2 separate regions of the Homo sapiens genome follow, and region 2 is linked to region 1. The links are contacts of gene promoters, found by promoter capture Hi-C in human tissues and cell types (Jung and others, 2019). All regions are on one chromosome and are shown on one strand. Each heading gives the region's core, a stretch centred on a gene start or on the middle of the fragment in contact. The rest is flanking DNA. Distances are from core to core; before and after follow the strand shown.

Region 1 (3,706 bases), core at 333-2,832:
TACAAGAGCTGTGTCAAGAGCTTCACATATTCTGCCTAAATGTTCCCAACAATGTTTGTGGGGTGGGCTGTATCATTCCCATGTTTGAGATATATAAGCTGAGGCCTGGAACTTGAAGGGCCCTGTCTGAAGTCCCAAAACTAGAAAACGATTTAGCCAAAATTTTTGTTTTAATCCGTATGTATGGCTCTCCAGGCTGATGGAGCTGGTCATATTTTGCAGTACCCAGAGGCTATACACCTGAGTACAGGCAGAAGCTACCCAGAGGATGATCTCTCCAGGCTTCTAAAGTATTTCTTTACTTGTTCAATGGTAATATTACTACTTTATACAGTTGTTGTGAGGATTAAATATGGTACGTAGGCCGGGTGTGGGGGTTCACGCTTGTAATCCCAGTTTGAGAGGTCGAAGTGGGAGGGTCGCTTGAGTCTAGGAGTTCGAAACCAGCCTGGGCAACGTGGTGAAACCTCGTCTCTACAAAAAACAAACGAACAAAGAAACACCCAAAAATTAGCCAAGCGTAGTGGCGCATGCCTGTAGTCCCAGCTACTCGGGAGGCTGAGGTAGAAGGATCGCTTGAGCCCGGGAGGTCGAGGCTGCAGTGAGCCGTAGTAGTGCCACTGCACTCCAGCCTGGGCGACAGAACGAGATCTTGTCTCAAAAATAAAATATTTAAAAATGTGGTATATAAAGCATTTGGCATATAGTACATTCAATACAAGCTGGTTGTTACTAGTAATGATAAAGTGCGCCTACCGTTTTGCTAGCACGTAACGTCTTCACTGGGCTAAATCAGCCCGATTCTAACCATTGACTCTGTGGTGCTGGAGCCCTAGATCAATGGTCAGAGGCCAGCAGGAGGTGCAGAGGTCCGGATCAAGTGCCATTTCCCTCTCTAGAAGTACTCAAACCCTCATCTCTGCCCTCATCCCTGCCAGCGCCTACCTCGACGCGGACGAGAAGCTGTGGTACCGCGACTGCTGGCAGGCCATGACCCACGGGCAGGCGGGCAATCAGCACCCGCGGCCTGGGAAGCTGTGGTAGCGTACAGCCGGTCGCCATGGCGACCAGGCCCCAGAGGCCCCCCCGCGGCGGGGGCGGAGTCAGGGATGCGCCACGCCCCCGAGCCTAGCGCCCGCGGGCTGGGAGTAGGACAAAGTAGCAAAGGTGGACTGGGACCCGGCAGCGGGTGCCCTGAGAGTCAACCACTACAGCCGATTTGACCCCAGGTACCAGAACTGAGGCAGGGGGATGAACAGAGGCCATGGGGAGGGAAGTGTGCTGAGAGGCCGGAGCCGCTTTGCCGGCGGGAATGGTAGTTTTCGGTGTCCCGACGTCTCGATGGGACAGGCTTATGGCTGAGGACGGTTATACTACATCTCCCAGAATTCTCTACCAGCCCGAGTTGCTCCGCCTCTCGAGAGCTCTGCATTGTGGGGTATGGAGTTCGAAATGTGGTAAGGCGTGTCAGTGTCCAAAGAGGGGTGCCGGACTCGGACTCGGTTTCCCTGCGGCCCAGGGAGGCTCACGGGCCATTGGCTGAGCGGGGCGGATCTGGTCCCGCTCCTCCCCGCCCCCAGTGACACAATAGTAGCTCCCTCCAAGATGGCGGCAGCGACGGCAGACCCGGGAGCTGGGAACCCGCAGCCTGGGGACTCCTCCGGCGGGGGCGCTGGGGGCGGGCTGCCGTCCCCTGGGGAGCAGGAGCTGAGCCGGCGCTTGCAGCGCCTGTATCCCGCGGTCAACCAGCAAGAGACTCCGCTGCCGCGCTCCTGGAGCCCCAAGGACAAATACAACTACATTGGTCTCTCCCAGGGCAACCTCCGCGTCCACTACAAAGGTATCGGCCCGTCAGGCTGGGGGGAATTAAGGCTAGAGCGTCCGTGGGGTGGCTCTGCTGCCAGGCCCCCGCCCTATCACCTCCCTTTCCCTGCCTAGGTGCTCCAAGTTAGGGCTTGGCCCTTTCAGGATGTCCAGGGTGGTGAGGCTGAACAGGCCGAGGGCTGACTGCCTGTTCTCTGTCCTGAGACACCTGCCGTCAAGAGAACCGCAACAGGTGTCCAAACCCAGTGCTGGGCCGGACCTTCCACTCCAGGGCCTCCGTGCTTATCCTAGGCTGGCGCCAACGGCAGCGGGACCTTTCGCCACTGCTTAGAAGAAAGGGGTGGTCACATACCTACCATTAGCGTGAGACTCATGGGCTTCCCCACCTGCCAGGCATCCTAGACTGAGCCTGGGGTTCCGTGCTAGAGTTTGGGGGGTGTCTTCCAGGTCGGCCTCATCCTTCTTCCCCTGGCCTCCCAGGTGGGCTGCCTGGATTCTAGAGAGGCTGCCAGCAGCACTTGAGTATCTCTCACATTGCCTCTACCCTTGTTTTGTTTGTATGGGCAGTGTCTCAGGCAGGACTGCTGTTCTCAGGAGGAGGTGAGGCAAAGGTGGAAGGTTTAAGTGTTTATTCAGTTGTCTAATGATTCCTCGGCCTGTGTAAGTGCGTCCTCTGGCCACAGAGGAGTGGAGTTGTCATGGAGGAGTTGCAGAGAAAAATGAGGCTTCCATTTGCATTTCCTTCTGCTGAAATTTCTTACTTGCCCTCTCCTGTTAGGTCATGGCAAAAATCACAAAGATGCGGCCTCAGTGCGTGCCACCCACCCCATACCTGCTGCCTGTGGCATTTATTACTTTGAAGTGAAGATTGTCAGCAAAGGAAGAGATGGGTAAGCCCTTCATGACCACCCTCTTTCCCTGATCATGGAGCTGATCCCTGTGGTCAGAGTTCAGGTCCTTTGGCTGGCACTTGTTGCTGATGTGAGCTGGGGAGCCGCATGGGTCTGGGCTGCCATTATTTCCTGACTGTGGGCATGGTCTGGTCTAAGCAGCAGATCTTGATGGCCAGTGGGTGTGTTGGGGGTAAAGCAGGGATTATTTTTAGTGATGATGTAATTTGATACCTAGAAGGTTAGGCAAACAAGTAACAAGTTTACTTTAAAAATTTAGTGTCCAGAATGGAGTTTCCCTCATGAGCATGTGGTGTTTTTGTGACTTCCTTCCTTTCACATTCTTGCTGTATTCATGAGGTTCTTTTTTATGGCATTTAGTCATGTGGAGGCCCTGGTAGCCTTCAAAGAGATAGTAGAGTCTTTGCAGCATTCATGAAAGCTTCTGTGGCCACCGGCCTGTCATCTCAGGGTAAACAGCATACACATGATCAGAATCAGGTGACCTTGCTGCTCATAAACTTGTTTTTCAGTCCAAGGACTTGAACACTACTAGTTGGATCAACTTTAGGAAGGTCCTCATTAAAGTCAGCATTAGGAGCCAGGCACGGTGGCTCACGCCTGTAATCCCAGCAATTTGGGAGGCTAAGATGGGCAGATCACCTGAGGTCAGGAGTTGGAGACTAGCCTGGCAAACATGCTGAAACCCTGTCTCTACTAAAAATACAAAAAAATTAACTGGCATACCTGTAATCCTATCACTTCAGAAGACCGAGGCGGGCGGATCACTTGAGATCAGGAGTTCAAGACCAGCCTGGCCAGCATGGTAAAACCCCATCTCTAAAAAAAAATTCAAAAATTAGCTGGGTGTGGTGGTGTGCACCTGTAATCCCAGCTACTTGGGAGGCTGAGGCATGAAAATCACTTGAACATGGGAGGTGGAGGTTGTAGTGAGCTGAGATTGCACCACTGCACTCTAGCCTGGGCAATAG
Region 2 (3,380 bases), core at 585-3,084, 310 kb before region 1:
CTCATGAGCCCACGCCACCAAGGCCTTGGGACCCAAGCACAGAGCTGTGCAACCTGCTCAGGTTGTGGCTAGCAGCAGCAGGCTGGACACTGCCTAAGACTACCAAGTTCCCACGGAAAGGGGCAGTCGCCATCACTGCGGCTCCAGTCTGCCATTTTCCTTTGCTGGTGTTGGGGAAACTTGGCGGTTTGGACGAAGAGGAATTCCCCACAGCACAACACAGTGGCGGTGGCAGATCGTGGCCAGATTGTTTCCTTAGGTGGGACCCAGATCCTTCTCTCTTCACCAGGCAGAACCTCCTTGCAGGAACTGCAGTAACTCTAGCCAGGAGTTTATGGACAGAACTCTGATATCCCTGGGAAGGAGCCTCTACGGGTAGGGGTGGTCATGGTCTCATGGTTCAGCTGACCTAGTCTTTCCTGCCTGTTGGCAGTCCAGATGAGGGGAATTCTCCCCAGCACAGCCGAACCTGCTCAGCCAAGGGGCAGTCAGACTGCTTCTTTAAGCAGGTTCCTGATCCCATCCCTCCTGACTGGGTGAGACCTCCCAACTGGGGTCACCAGGCACCTGATACAGGAGCGTTCCAGCCAGCATCAGCTCCGTGCCTTCTGGGATGAAGCTCCCAGAGGAGGAGGCAGCCATCTTTGCTGTTCTGCAGCCTCCACTGCTTATACCTCCAGGTGCAGGAGGGGGTAGATGAATTAGGTCAGGAGTGGTCCCCTAGTAAACTGCAGCAGCCCTACCCTATGGAAGAGGGGCCTTACTATTAAAAGAAAAACAAACAGAAAGCAACAACAACAACATCAACACAAAAGATCCCACAAAAACCCTATCCAAAGGTCAGCAGCCTCAAAGATCAAAGGCAGATAAATCCACAAAGATGAGAAAGAATCAATGCAAGAACGCTGAAATCTCAAAGAGCCAGAGTGTCTCTTCTCTAAATGATTGCAACACTTCTCCATCAAGGGCAGAGAACTGGGCTGAGGCAGAGAAGAATGAATTGACAGAAGTAGGCTTCAAAAGGTAGGTAATAACAAACTTCGCTGAGCTAAAGGAGTATGTTTTAACCCAAGGCAAAGAAGCGAAAAACCATGATAAAACATTACAGGAGCTGTTAACCAGAATGGCTAGTATACAGAGGAACATAAATGACCTGATTGAGCTGAAAAACACAACAGGAGAGCTTCACAATACAACCACAAGTATCAACAGCTGAACAGACCAGGCAGAGGAAAGGATATCAGAGCTTGAAGACTATCTTGCTAAAATAAGACGGGCAAACAAGGTTAGAGAAAAAAAAAAAATGTCGGGAGGCTGAGGCAGGAGAATGGCGTGAACCCAGGAAGCGGAGCTTGCAGTGAGCCGAGATTGCGCCACTGCAGTCCGCAGTCCGGCCTGGGCGACAGAGCGAGACTCCGTCTCAAAAAAAAAAAAAAAAAAAAAAACGAAAAAGAAAAAATGAAAAGAAATGAACAAAACCTCCAAGAACTATGGGATTATTTAAAAGAATGAACCTGGCTGGGCACAGTGGCTCACGCCTATAATCCCAGCACTTTGGGAGGCCGAGGCGGGTGGATCACGAGACCAGGAGTTCAAGACCAGCCTGGTCAAGATGGTGAAACCCCATCTCTACTAAAAATACAAAAATCAGCCAGGCGTGGTGGTGTGTGCCTGTAGTCCCAGCTACTCGGGCGGCTGAGGCAGAAGGATCGCTTGAACCCAGGAGGTGGAGGTTGCAGTAAGCCAAGATCACGCCACTGCACTCCAGCCTGGGCAACACAGCAAGACTCCATCTCAAAAAAAAAAAAAAAAAAAAAAAAAAAGACTGAACCTACAACTGGGGTACCTGAAAGAGACGGGGAGATCGCATCCAAGTCGGAAAACATACTTCACGGTATCATCCATGAGAACTTCCCCAACCTAGCAAGATAGGCCACCATTCAAATTCAGGAAATTCAGAGAAACCCAGTAAGATACTCCATGAGAAGATCAATCCCAAAACACATTATCATCAGATTCTCCAAGGTTGAAATGAAGGAAAAAATGTTAAGCGCAGGGAGAGAGGACAGATCACCACAAAGGTAAGCCCATCAAACTAACAGTGGACCTCTCAGCAGAAACCCTACAAGCCAGAAGAGATTGGATGCCAATATTCAACATTCTTAGAAAAGAATTTCCAACCCAAATGTCATATCCGGACAAATTAAGCTTCGTAAGTGAAAGAGAAATAAAGTCCTTTTCAGACAAGCAAATAATGAGGGAATTCAGCACCACCAGGTCTGCTTTACAAGAATTCCTGAAGGAAGCACTAAATATGGAAAGCAAAAACCATTATCAGCCACTACAAAAACACACTCAAGTACACAGACGAATGACACTATGAAGCAACTACATTAACACGTCTGCAAAATAACCAGCCAGCATTATGATGACAGGACCAAATTCACACATAACAATATTAACCTTAAAAGTAAATGGACTAAATACCCCAATTAAAATACACAAAATGGTTAGCTGGCTAAAAAGACAAGAACCATTGGTGTGCTGTATTCAAGAGACCCATCTAACATGCAAAGACATGCACAGGCTCAAAATAAAGAGATGGAGGAAAATTTACAAAGCAAATGGAAGGCAGGAAAAAAGCAGGGGTTGCAATCCTAGTTTCTGACAAAACAGATTTTAAACCAACAAGATCAAAAAAAGACAAAGAAGGGCATACAGCATGGTAAAGGGTTCAATTCAACAAGAAGAGCTAACTATCCTAAATATATATGCACCCAATACAGGCACACTCAGTTTCATAAAACAAGTTTTTAGAAACCTACAAAGAGACTTAGACTCCCACACAACAATAGTGGGAGACTTAACACCCCACTGTCAATATCAGACAGATCATCGAGACAAAAAATTAACAAAGATATTCAGGACTTGAGTTCAGCTGTGATCAAGTAGACTTACCCAAAAACAGAATATACATTCTTCTCAGTGCCACATGGCACTTACTCTAGATTCGATCACATACTTGGAAGTAAAACACTCCTCAGCAAATGCAAAAGAAATGAAATCATAACTGTCTCTCAGACCACAGCGCAATCAAATTAGAACTCAACATTAAGAAACTCACTCAAACCCACACAACTACATGGAAATTGAACAACCTGCCCCTGAATGACTTCTGGGTAAAAAATGAAATTAAGGCAGAAATCAAGAAGTTATTTGAAACCAATGAGAACAAAGAGACAATGTACCAGAATCTCTGGGATATAGCTAAAGCAGTGTTAAGAGGGAAATTTATAGCACTAAATGCCCACATCAAAAAGCCAGAAAAAACTCAAATCGACATCCTAATATCACAACTAAAAGACTAGAGAACCAAGAGT

Evidence for each region. The method cuts DNA at HindIII sites, captures the fragments that hold promoters and counts their contacts. A contact is called where the count stands out against the background at its distance.
Region 2: a contact is called between a fragment that was not itself captured here and the fragment with the promoter of RANBP10 in region 1, in 1 of the 25 tissues and cell types used here (IMR-90 fibroblasts).

The regions. Positions count from the first base shown.
Region 1 is chr16:67,804,436-67,808,141 of GRCh38, reverse strand. RANBP10 (RAN binding protein 10) reads left to right here and starts at 1,582. Exons shown (of 14, transcript NM_020850.3): 1 at 1,582-1,840; 2 at 2,603-2,714. The coding sequence starts at 1,606. It overlaps TSNAXIP1 (translin associated factor X interacting protein 1), which reads right to left and starts at 1,253. Exons shown (of 16, transcript NM_001288990.3): 1 at 946-1,253. The coding sequence starts at 992. RefSeq lists silencers at 1,024-1,143, 1,644-1,863 and enhancers at 1,284-1,513, 1,219-1,838, 1,839-2,459. The HindIII fragment of the contact is 11,094 bases long and covers 1-3,706 here.
Region 2 is chr16:68,110,712-68,114,091 of GRCh38, reverse strand. All of the region lies in intron 1 of NFATC3 (nuclear factor of activated T cells 3), which reads right to left. Among named protein-coding and RNA genes, the nearest start is that of NFATC3, 27 kb to the right of the region's middle. The HindIII fragment of the contact is 6,107 bases long and covers 1-3,380 here.